5 separate regions of the Homo sapiens genome follow, and regions 1, 2, 3 and 5 are each linked to region 4. The links are contacts of gene promoters, found by promoter capture Hi-C in human tissues and cell types (Jung and others, 2019). All regions are on one chromosome and are shown on one strand. The core of a region is centred on a gene start or on the middle of the fragment in contact, and the rest is flanking DNA. Distances in the headings are between cores, read along the strand shown.

Region 1 (2,850 bases), core at 347-2,846, 170 kb before region 4:
CTTGGCTTGGAGTTGTCTGGAGCCAGGAAAACAGACTGGACTTTGAGGGCAGGACACCTCACCTGAAGGTGCTTTAGTTAGGTTCAGCACATCTGAAAGAGAGAGAGAGAAATAGGGGTGGTAGAACTGAGCAGTTGACAGAAGGGGACTCCAGGACTTGTCTCAGAGAGTAAGGGGCTGTGTTCTCTGCCCTTCATTCACTTATTCTACAATTGTTTGTTCATTTCTAGTACATGCCAAGCACTATTTTAGGTGCCAAGGTCCTAGCAGCTCACTCACAAAGTCCCTGCTCACATAGAGTAGATAGTAGATTACTGTCTAGACAGAAAACAAACAAAAAAAACACGATAATTTCATGGGGTGATAAGTGCCGTGAAGAAAATAAAATGGAAATGGAATAGTGACTGTGTTGCAGGGGGCGTCTTTCAGAGAGATGGTCAGGGAAGCTCAAGGGGAATCCAAAGCCTTCATAAAAAGTCAGAGCTGCCAAGGCTCCCAAGGGACCACTGGTCCCATAGCCTCATTTTGCAGCTGGGAAAACTGAGGCCTAGTAAGCCAAGGCAGAGCCCAGAGCTGAGCCCGAGTCTCTCGACCTCCAGATGGCTGGATGGCTTCCTCCTCTCCTCCCCTCACATCCTTAACCTCCCCCATGTCATCTTAGGGGGAAGGAGCAGATACAGGGGTGCTCTCAGAACGTGGGCATTAAACAGGGACCAGGGGAGTGAAGGGCAGCAAACAATACGAAACCACACAACAATGGGAAAGAAGTTCCACGAAGTTCAGATTTTTCCCATGCTGCAATTCTGAGCCTTTTTTTTTTTTTCAAAAATATTATGCATCAAATTCTTCTTCTGAAGTTTGGTTTTGGTGCCTCTGCTTTGCCTGTTTGAGGGGTATGACTGTGGAGAGTCATATGGGAGCCTTGGTTCCCTCACCTGCAAAATCCGAACCCAACTTTCCTGACTCCAGCAGTACTGTTGTGTGCAGCCTTTGTAAAGACCACAGGCACCCCCTCCCCATGGCTGTGCGGGTCTGGTCCCTTCCCTCTGCTTCTGAGCCCATCCCCGCTTGCCCACCCCAGCCCTGAGTCTGTCCACAGGAACATCCGACACAAGCGCACTTTGTTACAGACTCACTGTGACACCATGAGGTGGTTTTGGGTTTGTTCTCATGCCCGATTTGCCAACCAGGAAGCAGGCTTGCATGTGTGAGAGGGCTTGCTGAAGGTTGCACAGCCAGTAAGTGACAGAGCCAGGACTTGAACAGAAAGTTCCATTCAGTTTTCTCTACTCAAGGCTTCCATCCAAAATGACAACAACAGCAACAACCACCACCCAACGCTTTGGTGTTTGGGGATCTAAGCTTCATTTCTCTGAAAATGCACTGATGTGCAATGTGGATTTCGTGTTGGTCGAGGTGTCCAGGTGGTGTCACTTGGTGTGGTGCTGCCACCTGCCGAGAAAAGATGGGTGTTGCATCCCATCTCAAGCAGGCGCCGTCCAGGCCGAACCCAACTGTAGAGGCCTTTTCAATGCTTTTAAGTCCACTAAAAAGCGCAGCAAAGAAGCCCCAGACATGGGTCACTTGACCCATGGAAACACTGAGGTCCAAAAAGATCCTTTAAACAATTCATCTACCTTTGTTGACCTGACTTCCTCTTTTCCCATTTCCCACTGACCATGGCATCCTGTCTCCTGCCTCTCCACTCCCCTGGAATTGCTCTGGCAAAGTCATTTTGACTTTCTGATTGCCCAATTGAACAGCCTCTTTTTAGTCCTCACTTTACCTGACTTTTCAGCAGCATTAGGAACCCCTGACCACGCCCTCCTTTGGGAAACATCTCCCTGGGCTTTCAGGACACCTTTCTGCTGTTTCTCTCCCACTTCCCCAGCTGCTAATTCTCGGCCTCTATCCAAGGTTCTGTCCTTGGCCACATTCTTTTATCACTGGGCATCATCATTCCCAAGGCAACAATGGATGTGCTAATACCCCCCCAAACAAAGTTACTGTCAGTCCAGACCTAATTCCTGAGCTCCAGACCCATTTATCTGGCCCTCTTCCTCCTAGATGTCCACCTTGGATGGCCTGATGTGTCCATCCTAATCTATCCTGCTCCCTACAGCCTGCTCTTCCTGCTAGGATTCACCTCATGGAAGAGTCACTCTGTGCCCCAAGCCACACCCCTGGGAATCATTTTCCACTCCTTTCCTGTAGCCTCCACATCAGTGGGTCATTATCGTGACTGCAGGATCCATTCCCATCTTCTTCCCAGTAGCAGAACCTCTGAATTCTGCTTACACATATGGCCACCCAGAATAAAGACTACATTTCTGAGCCTCTTTTGTAGTTAGGGGCAGAAAACTTCCAGAAAGTTCACGACTCCTCTTTTCTCTTTTTTTCTGGCTGGAATGTTGATATGGTAGCTCGAGCAGCCTTTTTGGATCATGAGGTCTAACCCACAAATGACAAAGCAACAAGGTGGTGGGGCCTAGATGCTGACACTATGGATAACTACACCCATTCTGGACTACCTACCTGGTTCTTTTTATTTAAGCTACTGTTTTTCTGTCACTCAAAGCCACGTGCATAATCCTAAGTAATCGAGATAGAGTCATTCATTCTTCAAAAGAATATTCATGTATGCTAGACATTGCATTTCATGCTTTCTCAGCGCTCTCCATTTCTCCCACCTGCCCCTCTCAAATCCATTCTACTCACCACAGCCAGAGTGACCTTTCCAAAACACAAACCCAACTGTTTCCACTCGGCTCATGTCGTCTGTGACTCCCCATTACTAACAGAATCAAGTTCAAGCTCCTCAGCCTGCCACTAAGGGTCACCCCTCTTTGA
Region 2 (2,743 bases), core at 2-2,501, 240 kb before region 4:
AGGCAGCACTTTACCAGACTCAGCTTTAAGCAGAAAGCCTACTGTTGTCCCTGGCATTTTTGAGGTTGGCAACTATACTTCCCACCCTCCCACCCCACTGGACACTGGACCCCCCCTCAGAAATACACCTTCAATTCCTGCTTGCCACCAGGAATTACCTCTTATGGTCTTACACAATTCCCCATTCTTGCTTTTGGTGCTTGAATATGTACTTTTTTTTTCTTTTAATTATCAGCTGGGCATGGTGGCTCATGCCTGTAATCCCAGCACTTTGGGAAGCCAAGGCTGGTAGATCACTTTGAGGCCAGGAGTTCGAGACCAGCCTGGCCAACATGGTGAAACCCCATCTCTACAAAAAATAAAAATATTAGCCAGGCATGGTGGTACACACCTGTATTCTCAGCTACTCGAGAGGCTGAGGCAGAGAATTGCTTGAACCCAGGAGGCAGAGGTTGCGGTAAGCCAAGATCACACCACTGCATTCCAGCCTGGGTGACAGAGCAAGAACTGGTCTCAAAAAAAAAATTTTTTTTTAATTTAAAAAATTATTTAGCACTTATCTTGCTTTGCACATCTAATATTTCAAAGAGGAGGAATTTAATAAGCGTTTAATCAAGCTTGACCTGGAAATCCTGGTCTCTGAGCCTTCCATCCCTGTCACCCAGTCTCTAGCCTCTCTTTGGAGCCCCCATTCTCCTCCCTGAATCCCATCTCCCTTACCAGGTTGTCATCCTCTTTCTGAACCCCATTTCCTGCTACTCAACCTTCTGTCCCTCCTACTCACGTCATCTCCCTCCCTGAGCCCTCATTCAAGTTTCTCCCACCAGGCGAGCATGGAAGTTCTTTTCCACTGCACACTCAGCAACTCAGAAAAGTCCTTCCTTTTCATTTTTCAGCCAACTCTATTGTCCCAGTGGTTCTCACCGAGAACATGGAGTTAACCAGCAGGACCACAGCACTGTTGCCTTCTGCATGGTCTTCCAGAGGTAGAGGTTAGAGGAAGGATCTTACAGGAAGAATCCTGAAGGCAGAGGAGGAGCCCTGCAAGAAGGGAGGGCTTTGACCTTCATTTCCACGCCCCTTTCTCCCTCTGTGTCTCCTCTGTGTGGGCCCCCTCCAGCCCTGAGGATCAATGGGGGTTCACTTTCACTGAGCTCAGCAACACTGCTCCCTCCCCACTTCCTGTGGCTCTGAGCTGACTGGCCTGCTTGGTCTAGGCTGGGGGCTGGTCAGTGCCACACCCAGATCTGGGGAAAAGAAATTCCTTGGCTGGCGAGGTGGCTCACGCCTGTAATCCCAGCACTTTGGGAGGCCAAGACGGGCGGATCAGGAGGTCAGGAGATCGAGACCATCCTGGCTAACACGGTGAAACCCCGTCTCTACTAAAAATACAAAAAAATTAGCCAGGCATGGTGGCGGGCGCCTGTAGTGCCAGCTACTTGGGAGGCTGAGGCAGGAGAATGGTGTGAACCCGGGAGGCAGAGCTTGCAGTGAGCCGAGATTGCGCCACTGCACTCCAGACTGGGCAACAGAGCGAGACTCCATCTCAAAAAAAAAAAAAAAAGGAAAAGAAAAAGAAATTCCTTGGGCCCCTCCAGCACCTCGTGGCCTAAGTCTCTTGTCCTTTCTGGGCTGCACAGGGAAAAGGAAGAAGGCCTTATCTTTCTCTCATGCTTCCTCCTGCTCTCAGTAGAGGTGGGTTCCCAAAGGTCAATAATGTGATGCCATCACCCCCTGAGCACTCTCCACTCCAATCCCCTCCTAGGAAGGCTTCCTAGATTGAGAAGAACTGCTAGGACCAGGGAATTCCCAGAGCATCTCCCTGCTCCACCTGAAACACGTACCTGAAGAGCAGTCAGACGAATGGGTCACGTGCGTACAGCCCCCTGCATGGTCTCTAACTTTTTCATGCATTATTGCATTCAGTGCTGATAGCCAGGGAAAGTGGGGAAGAGGTGGAGTGACTTGCCCAAGGTCCCCAGGTATTCCACAGGTGGAGCTAGGACTGGAAGCCCAGCCATGACTTGTAGTTTAGGGCTCTTTCTGCCCCTGGCACTGCCAGCCTCTCTGGATGCTGGTGCCTCCCACTTCACCCATCCTGGGTTCTCTCCTAGGGAGCCACAGCCTCTGCAGCATGCCCAGCCTCAGGGCCTGGCCAGGCTCCCTGTTTCTTATCAGGCCAAATTGGACCCTCCATCCTGGCATTCAAGTCCTCCTGCGTGCCCCTGGCTAAGCTTGCTCTTCCGAATGCTCTGTAACATTCTTCCCACACCAGTACACACACACACACACACACACACACACACACACACACACACATTAAAGCAGCACCTGAGTGAATTAACAGCCATACAAGGCAAGTCTCTTCACTGAGCCTCAGTCTTCTTGAGTGTAACATGGGACCGTGAACAGTATTACCGCACAAGGTTGTGGGGATGCTGAAATAGACAATGCAGGTAAAACATCCTGCATAAGGCTTAGGATTGACTGCAGGCCTCATTAATGGTAGCTGCAGGCATTATTGGTTGTACTTCTCTGCGTCTCTCCCAGTCCTCCCCACTCCTGTCCCCAAGAAAGCTCCCTCTGCCATTGCCTGTGGAGACTTCTCCCTCCTCTGAGCTCTAGCAACCCTTGGAGCTGTAAGAAAGCCCAGGGTCAGGTGGCTAGCAGGCAGAGAGATTTTAGGAGGCAAGTGAGTGGAACCCAGACCTCCTCGCCTCGATTCAACTAGCGCACTTCTGCT
Region 3 (2,892 bases), core at 1-2,500, 180 kb after region 4:
CAGTTAACTAGCCCAACCTATTCCTTTATTTTGGCCCATCCCTTCGTTTCCCATAAGGGATACTTTTAGTTAATCGAATATCTATAGAAACAATGCTAATGACTGGCTTGCTGTTAATAAATACGTGGGTAAATCTCTGTTCGGGGCTCTCAGCTCTGAAGGCTGTGAGACCCCTGATTTCCCACTTCACACCTCTATATTTCTGTGTGTCTTTAATTCCTCTAGCGCCGCTGGGTTAGGGTCTCCCCGACCGAGCTGGTCTCAGCAATGTTGTTCAATTTTCACTAGTCTATAAGGCAGGCACTATTATTATCTGCAGGCACTATTATTATCTTCATTTTAATGATGAGAAACCAGTGCAGAGAGATATCTTATAATTTGCCCAAGGTTACACAGTTGGTACATGGTGGAGCTGGGAATCAAAACAATGGAATTTGGCCAAATTTCTTGTCTCTTAGGCTTAGGATTTTTCAAGGAAAACTGGGCTATTTAGTACGCCTTAGCAGCAAATGCAATCTTTTTCCTGTGTTTGAATTACAGGTTCTCAGTATTGACCTATTTTCTTCCCTATATGATCCTGTCCTGACTATATGTTAAGGTAAGTTAGATCATATCACTCTCCAGCTTAAAATCTCCCAAAGCCTCCCCATAGCACTTCAAATCAAATCCAAGTACCTTATCCTGGCCCACATAGTCCTGCATGATCTGACCCCTACTTACCTCTTCTACTTCATCTCCTATGGCTCTCACCTTTTGCTTTGCTCCAGCTATACTGGTCTTCTCAGCTCCTGTTGGAGGCCAAGTTCCTTATGACCTTGGGGCCTTTACACTCCCTGGAATGTTCCACCTCAATATTCACATGTCTGGCTTTTCATCATTCAGGTCTTAGCTTAAATGTCACCTCCTCAGAGAATCCTTCCCTGATCACTCAAACTAAAGTAGTCACCTAGACCCTTTCTATCATACCACTCTTAATTCTCCACATAGCAGTTAGCACCATTTAATATTTTCCATATCTATTTATTTGTCTCTCTCACTGGGGTGTTTATGTTATTCATTCAGCATTATATCCCAGCACCTGGAATAGTGCCTGGTGTAAGAGGAGATACTCAATAGGTATTTATTAATGAAATGGGTATATGCTAATTTAATAGTAAGGAAAAAAGGCACAAAACTAAAAAATTATATGACCAGAATAGTGGCTACTTACTGAATTGAAAATACATTATACTTGGATGGCTTATAATTACAACCCACAAATTGATTTCTGAGAGAAAAACAGTTAAGGAAAATCTCTTAAAATGAAACAAAAATGACTGAACTGCAGGATGGCTGAATAGGAACAGCTCCAGTCTGCAGCTCCCAGCATGATCGATGCAGAATACGGGTGATTTCTGCATTTCCAACTGAGGTATCTGGTTCATCTCATTGGGACTGGTTGGACAGTGGATACAGCCCACGGAGGGCAAGCCGAAGCATGACGGGGCATCACCTCACCTGTGAAGCACAAGGGTTGGGGGATTTCCCTTTCCTAGCCAAGGGAGGCCGTGACAGACTGCACCTGGAAAATCAGTACACCTCTGCCCAAATACTGTGCTTTTCCCATGGTCTTAGCAACTGGCAGACCAGGAGATTCTCTCCTGTGCCTGGCTCGGCAGGTCCCATGCCCATGGAGCCTTGCTCACTGCTAGCGCAGCAGTCTGAGACTGACCTCAATCAATTCGGGGCTCTCAGCTCTGAAGGCTGTGAGACCCCTGATTTCCCACTGCATCCTCGCGGGGGGGAGGGGCATCTGCCATTGCTGAGGCTTGAGTAGGTAAACAAAGTGGCCAGGAAGCTCGAACTGGGCAGAGCCCACTACAGCTCAACAAGGCCTACTGCCTCCATAGACTTCACCTCTGTGGGCAGGGCATAGCTGAACAAAAGGCAGCAGACAACTTCTGCAGATTTAAACATCCCTGTCTGATAGCTTGAAGAGAGGAGTGGTTCTCCCAACACTGGGAGGTACCTCCCAGTAGGGGCCGACTGACACCTCATACAGGCAGGGGCCCCTCTAGGACGAAGCTTCCAGAGAAAGGATCAGGCAGCAATATTTGCTGTTCTGCAATATTAGCTGTTCTGCAGCCTCCGCTGGTGATACCCAAGCAAACAAGGTCTGGAGTGGACCTCCAGCAAACTCCAACAGACCTGCAGCTGAGGGACCTGTTAGAAGGAAAACTAACAAACAGAAAGGAATAGCATCAACATCAACAAAAAGGACATCCATACCAAAATCCCATCTGTAGGTCACCAACATCAAAGACCAAAGTTAGATAAAACCACAAAGATGGTGAGAAACCAGAGCAGAAAAGCTGAAAATTCTAAAAACCAGAGCGCCTCTTCTCCTCCAAAGGATCGCAGCTCCTCACCAGCAACAGAATAAAGCTGGATGGAGAATGACTTTGACAAGTTGACAGAAGAAGGCTTCAGAAGGTCAGTTAATAACAAACTTTTCTGAGCTAAAGGAGGATGCTCAAACCCATCACAAGGAAGCTAAAAACCTTGAAAAAAGATTAGATGAATGGCTAACTAGAATAAACAGTGTAGAGAAGACCTTAAACGACCTGATGGAGCTGAAAACCATGGCACGAGAACTTCATGACACATGCACAAGCTTCAGTAGCCGATTTGACCAAGTGGAAGAAAGGATATCAGTGATTGAAGATCAAATTAATGAAATAAAGCAAAAAGACAAGATTAGAGAAAAAAGAGTAAAAAGAAATGAACAAAACCTCCAATAAATATGGGACTATGTGAAAAGAATCTGCATTTGACTGGTGTACCTGAAAGTTACAGGGAGAATGGAACCAAGTTGGAAAACACTCTTCAGGATATTATCCAGGAGAACTTCTC
Region 4 (2,730 bases), core at 131-2,630:
CCAGGGTGTCCCTGTGGACAGTCACCTGCACCAGTGCATAGGCCTTCCGCGGCCGCCTCACCACTTCAATGTGCTCCCGCGCCACCGGCATCTCCAGCCGCTCCAGGGTGTCTCGCAGCAGGCAGGCAAGCACCGGCACTGAGAACTGGGGGTTCAGATGGCCCACATAGAGAGTGTGCGCCGAGGGAGCCTCCTCGAGGTCAGAGTACTCCGTCAGGGACTGCTCTGCGGGTAGCTCCGGCAGGGACTCCTCACCCCAGGACTCCATGAAGGGCTCTGACACCTGTGTTTGCACTGATCTCTTCATGGGGGTCATGGGAAGGCTCTCCCTGGGAAGGGGTTCCAGGATTCCTCACTGCTGGCTGCTTCTCCCAGGGTCTGTGTTCTCAGTGTGGCTTAAGGGCTCCCAGAGGACTCAGGGAGTGTCCCGGCTCCTGGGAGGTACACAGATTGGCAGAGACTGGGCAGGGCCAGAGAGAGGGAGGGCAGAGGGCAAGCAGGAAAGGGCCTGCCACCCACCTGAGGCCTAGGATGAGAAAGCAGAGTCACGTGGACTGAGCAAGACACAGGGCCTGTGGGAAGACGGGATCTGCCCAAAAAGTGGCAGAAGGGACCAGAACTCAGGTCTCTGAGAGCTCCACCATTTCAGTGGCCCCAGGGGTCCTGTCTTCCCTCCCCAACCCACAGGCTAGGGGCCTCCTAGGTACCCTCAGGGTTTCCTGCCTACCAGTTCACTCCTGCCTCCAGGCAACAGAGAAAACCTTTACACAGGGCCTCCTGGAGAGGAGGCCTTAACCCAGGACTCTGAGGACTGGCTGGTGGCCCCATTGCAGCTTCTCTGCCTGCTCTAAAACCCCATGTGAGGCCATCGGGGGCTCTGAAACTAGGCAGCGCTGGGGCAGAGGCTTTTAGAGCAGAGGATCTCACGCTTTTTGGCACACTGATGAAAGCTATGGCCTCTCAGAAAAATGGCCTTTGCATATAAACATAACTTAAGGTGGCTCCTAGACCCTAAGAACTAGTCTAGACTGAGTCCTCCATTTTTGGTCCAGAGAGCAGAGGTCAACAGGGCAGAACGAGGGTTAGAGTTGGGGCCCTAGTGCCCCCGCCCCAAGTCCAGGGAGCCTCTGTCCTGAGCTGTGCACATATGTGCACACACCAGCCCCTCTACTGCTCCCCACACACCCAGCCTGCATCTTCTCAAATGGAATCCTTGAGGCAGTTGGCCTGGGGGCATTCAGGTCAAACAGGAAGAGGAGGAGAGGAGAGGCCTATGACCTTCATGTCCTGGTGGCTCCCGCGGGAGCATGGGAGGTGCCTGCCCTGAGCTCCCATAGCCTCCCGACCCCTGGCCGGTAGCTCTCAGGGAACTTGGAGGCTTGGCACAGGGACGGCCAGAACCAGGGTTATAGGAAGTGGGCGGGGCCTGCACAGCTACCTCTGTGATCTCATGAGGTTCAACAATGCCTTCTTGGCCAGCCACAGGCAGGCTGGGTGCGGGAAATCAAACAGGAAAACTCAGCTCCCTGTGGGTCCCACCACACACTGGAAGCAGACCCAGCGGCCCACCCACCATGCAGCTTGGCTGTGGGACACACTTCCCCACTTAGTGATGTCTCTTCAGGCCCCAGTTCCCATGCAGGTCACCTCTTGCCACCTCTTTCAGCGCTGCTGCCTAAAGCCTCCACCTCCCTCTTTAGTCAGTCACCAATCCCAGGCTCTACTGAGTACTGACAGGGCCCAGCTGCTCCCAAGATGGAGCAGGAGGCACATGGTAGGCTCCAGGGCTCCCCCTGACGCCAGGCCCTTCTCTGTGCTGGAGACAGAGGCTGCTGTCCAGAAGAGCCCTGAAAAATAGGTCAGGCGTAGCTATCTATCTCTTTGGGAAGATGAGGTTGTTACCTGCTGTTGGAGAAACCAAGACGTGGGTGACACACAGTCTTTATCAGCACAGGACTGACCAGTGCTCATCATTCTGCAGAAGGCTGGCAGCGCTTGCCCACACTGCTTCTGGAAGCCCCAATTGGGGGCAGTAAGGATGGTGCCACAGTTAGATGCTTCAACTAAGAAAGCTGTTTGACAGCGTAGAGAAGCTGCCTTCCTTGAAAGCAGCCTTTCTGAAGATGTTACCAAATGTTTGTTTCCTAGGGGGTGAGGCAGTAGTTTGGGTAGAGCACTCAAGAAAAGAGGCTATGGTGTGCGGGGAAGAGAGGGGCGCAGGCCTCAACTGGTGGCAGTGCGAGGCTCTGGGGAGAGTGCATTCGGTGCCCTCTCCTTGCCCGCCCGGGCAGCAGCCAGGTTGGGCTCGGCTTTGTGTCCACAGCTCTTAGGGTTAGAGAATGACGGCTCCAAGCTCCCCCTGCCTCACCCCCTCTCCCTCAAGCCTTTCTTGCCTCTGTCATCCATGAGGTGCCCTCACAGCAACTGAGGCTATAGCTGTTTTGAGATGGCCAACTCAAGTCGTGTTGAACTGTGCAGAAATAGCTGTCCGGGAGAAGCACCTTGACAGACGAAACACCTGAACATGACCAGAGGCGTTCTCCCTACTTACCTAGAGGCCTTGCTATTGGGTGGCTGTTCTGCATGAAATTTCCCAAATTGACTTGAGTGCAGCAACTTTCCCCACTCTTCCTGGCAGTCTCTTTAAGCCACTGCATCACATATTTCTCTGGCGCCTTTAACAGCCTTCTGTGAGCTGAATCAGTTCTACTTCTTTTTGGAGATGGGGGT
Region 5 (2,864 bases), core at 163-2,662, 200 kb after region 4:
AGGGCCCAGGCGCGGTGGCTCATGCCTATAATCCCAGCACTTTGGGAAGCCAAGCTGGGCGGACCACTTGAGGCCAGGAGTTCAAGACCAGCCTGGCCAACATGGCGAAACCCTATCTCTACTAAAAATACAAAAAAAAATTAGCCAGGTGTGGTGGCAGGCACCTGTAGTCCCAGCTATTCAGGAGGCTGAGGCAGAAGAATTGCTTAAACCCGGGAGGCAGAGGTTGCTGTGAGCCAACACTGCACCACTGAACTCTCCAGCCTGGGTGACAGAGCAAGACTCCGTCTCAAAAAAAAAAAAAAAAAAAAAAAAAAAAAGCTAGGAAACAAAGGACTGGAGATTGACATCATTAAGCAATCAAGCAATCAGTGATAAGTCTTGAGAGAGCAGAACCATCTACAAATGATATGAACAGATAAATAATCTTAAACTGGCAGCATTAAGTCAAAGAGATATACCTATATCTGGTTTTAGGAAACATTATTTGCATAATTCTAACATACTTTATGTGGAATACAGAGAAGGAATAAGACAAGCAGAAAGTGAGGGAAGGGAAGGAAGGGAAAGAAGAAAAGGAAACAAGGGAAGGGAAGAAGAAGAAAGAGAAAGCATGAAGGAATTAAACAAAGAAAGGAAAGGAGAAAAAGAAATACTGCAAATATGAAACAACTGCTTTAAGTGACTTGGTGCTTTGCCATAAAAATAGACAATAAAAGTGATAAAGTGATGTTGGTGAAGATAGGCAAAGAAATACTCTTTTGCAAAAGTTAAACAAAATCAAACACTGGATTTCCTCAAAATCTTTAGATTTTATAGTTATATACTTACAGCTATATAAGCACCTTTACCTTCATATAGGAAAAAAACCCTTGAAACAATTACTATACTAACTCTTTATAACATGAGGCTTCCTAGGAATGCACCTTCTATAATACAGCAAAAGAGACTGTACCGAGACATATCACAGTGCTAAGGGGAAGATGGCATTATGCCAAGGAACTCTACAGAAGTACTGCTTAGAAAATCCAGACACCTGGCACCCTAAAGCCTTTTTTCACTTGGGTATTACGGTCCACCAACAACTAGGTTGGTGGGTTTGGAGGCAGATTTTCATTTCTGGAAAGGGGTAATTCAAACACTCAAGAAGAGTCCTAGGCAGGTAATCTAAACAGAAAGTGAGAATGGAAACTGACATTGCATAATGGGACTGTATGATGCAGTCATTTTTCAAAGGATACTTCTGTTGAGATGAAGAATCCCTGATTTCTGATGATAGGGTAATAGGGAAAACTGGAGAAGATCCTAGCCCACATGAAATCATCTCTTTCATGAAGTGTATACATTTATATTATTGTACTATTTTGTATTATAATTTATTTGTCTGATTCCTCTACTAGATTATGAGCCTTGTGGGGTGAGGTTGCTTCATGTTTATTTCTTTATCCCCTAATCTGAATTTTCTGAGAATTAGTCCTAAATCCCTGTCGGATAAAATTGTGGGAGGTTTTGAAATGGGCAAGAGAGATTACTGCATATTCTATCAATGGAATCTGGAGCCTTCCAGGATTACCTGATTGTATAGAGATGTGTTACTTGGTCTCTCTTTAATTAGGCTATTTCACAGCTTTGTCAAGAAAGATGTCAGCTTGTTGAAAACTCACAGTAATGCAAATAATTCCTGTCCACTGAAATGCAAACTGTGCCCAGGTAATGCAATTGATAACTGTCCTATGGGTATTGACGAGTTTTGTCACCATTTGTGAATTAAGTTCAGCATTCCCTGACAATAAATATGTGGTACTTTGGGTCCTCTCTGAGCCATCTTTGTACTATCTTTCTGTTTCCCACATGGATTAATGAGTTAAAATTTTGTTCATTCTATATTTGTGTGAGAGTCGTAATTTTATCTTTTTTTTTTTAAGGAAAATTATCCCTCAATCATCCCTAACAAGTTTTAAATTTCATTTAGGGCAGGGACTGTATCTTTCAATGTATCGTAAAAATACAACTAGATTTGGAAAAGGCCTAGGTTTAATCGTTGCTCAGTAAGTACTGATTGTATATGATGCAAGCTAATTTCCAGCGCCATCTTTAATTCTCAGTGGTTCATATATCATATATTAGATGGGATTAATTCCTGCCTTGCCAACTTTCAAAGACCTGTTGTGAGAATCAGATAATAACCTGCAAACATTTGGGTAATCTATAAAGCTCCCTGCTCTGTCATTTGCAAGGCTATCAAAGTGGTTTTCCTACAACACTCAAGGGATAGTCTTTGTTTTCTGCTCAAAACCCTTCACTGACTCCTCTTGCCCACAGAATGACATTTAAACTCCCCAGGATGGTACAAAAATCATCCTCGGATGATCCAGCCCTTGCCTACCCTCTAGCCTCACCTTTAGTCAGCTCTTCTTAACCTTAATACACAGCAGTAATAAACGATTTATACAGTTCCAAACACTACATATGCTGACTCCTTCCATCTGGATCGCCCCCTCTTTCACCTCCTCAGTCTACCTAAAAAACGTCTACTCATCCTTTAAAACCTAATTTGCATAGAATAGAAGCTTTCCTCATACTCTCAGACAAAATCATTATCTCTTCCATGAAGTGTATACATTTATATTATTGTGCTATACTGTATTATAATTTATTTGTGTCTGATTCCTCTACTAGATTATGAGCCTTAAAGGGTAATGCTGCTTCATGTTTATTTCTTTATCCCCTGTATCTAACACATGGTGAGTGCTAAATACTGAATAGTTGAAATGAAATGTAAGGGATTAGTGATTATTGTATCTCCATTTTCCCTATAGCAACTAGCATAGAGTTAAGCATACACTAGTGTTTAGTAAATAATC

Evidence for each region. The method cuts DNA at HindIII sites, captures the fragments that hold promoters and counts their contacts. A contact is called where the count stands out against the background at its distance.
Region 1: a contact is called between a fragment that was not itself captured here and the fragment with the promoter of SLFNL1 in region 4, in 3 of the 25 tissues and cell types used here (H1 embryonic stem cells, liver and thymus).
Region 2: a fragment that was not itself captured here is called in contact with the fragment with the promoter of SLFNL1 in region 4 in 2 of the 25 tissues and cell types used here (IMR-90 fibroblasts and thymus).
Region 3: a contact is called between a fragment that was not itself captured here and the fragment with the promoter of SLFNL1 in region 4, in 1 of the 25 tissues and cell types used here (aorta).
Region 5: a fragment that was not itself captured here is called in contact with the fragment with the promoter of SLFNL1 in region 4 in 1 of the 25 tissues and cell types used here (thymus).

The regions. Positions count from the first base shown.
Region 1 is chr1:40,848,735-40,851,584 of GRCh38, forward strand. It overlaps LOC105378676 (a long non-coding RNA gene), which reads right to left. Exons shown (of 3, transcript XR_947239.2): 2 at 63-92. Among named protein-coding and RNA genes, the nearest start is that of CITED4, 12 kb to the right of the region's middle. The HindIII fragment of the contact is 9,569 bases long and covers 1-2,850 here.
Region 2 is chr1:40,777,843-40,780,585 of GRCh38, forward strand. No RefSeq gene overlaps it. Among named protein-coding and RNA genes, the nearest start is that of KCNQ4, 4.6 kb to the right of the region's middle. The HindIII fragment of the contact is 3,683 bases long and covers 1-2,743 here.
Region 3 is chr1:41,203,753-41,206,644 of GRCh38, forward strand. The region is part of intron 1 of SCMH1 (Scm polycomb group protein homolog 1); the gene reads right to left. Among named protein-coding and RNA genes, the nearest start is that of SCMH1, 37 kb to the right of the region's middle. The HindIII fragment of the contact is 3,341 bases long and covers 1-2,892 here.
Region 4 is chr1:41,020,345-41,023,074 of GRCh38, forward strand. SLFNL1 (schlafen like 1) reads right to left here and starts at 1,381. Exons shown (of 6, transcript NM_144990.4): 1 at 1,279-1,381; 2 at 520-526; 3 at 1-434. The coding sequence starts at 316. The region is part of intron 1 of SLFNL1-AS1 (SLFNL1 antisense RNA 1); the gene reads left to right. The HindIII fragment of the contact is 20,466 bases long and covers 1-2,730 here.
Region 5 is chr1:41,221,603-41,224,466 of GRCh38, forward strand. The region is part of intron 1 of SCMH1 (Scm polycomb group protein homolog 1); the gene reads right to left. Among named protein-coding and RNA genes, the nearest start is that of SCMH1, 19 kb to the right of the region's middle. The HindIII fragment of the contact is 7,059 bases long and covers 1-2,864 here.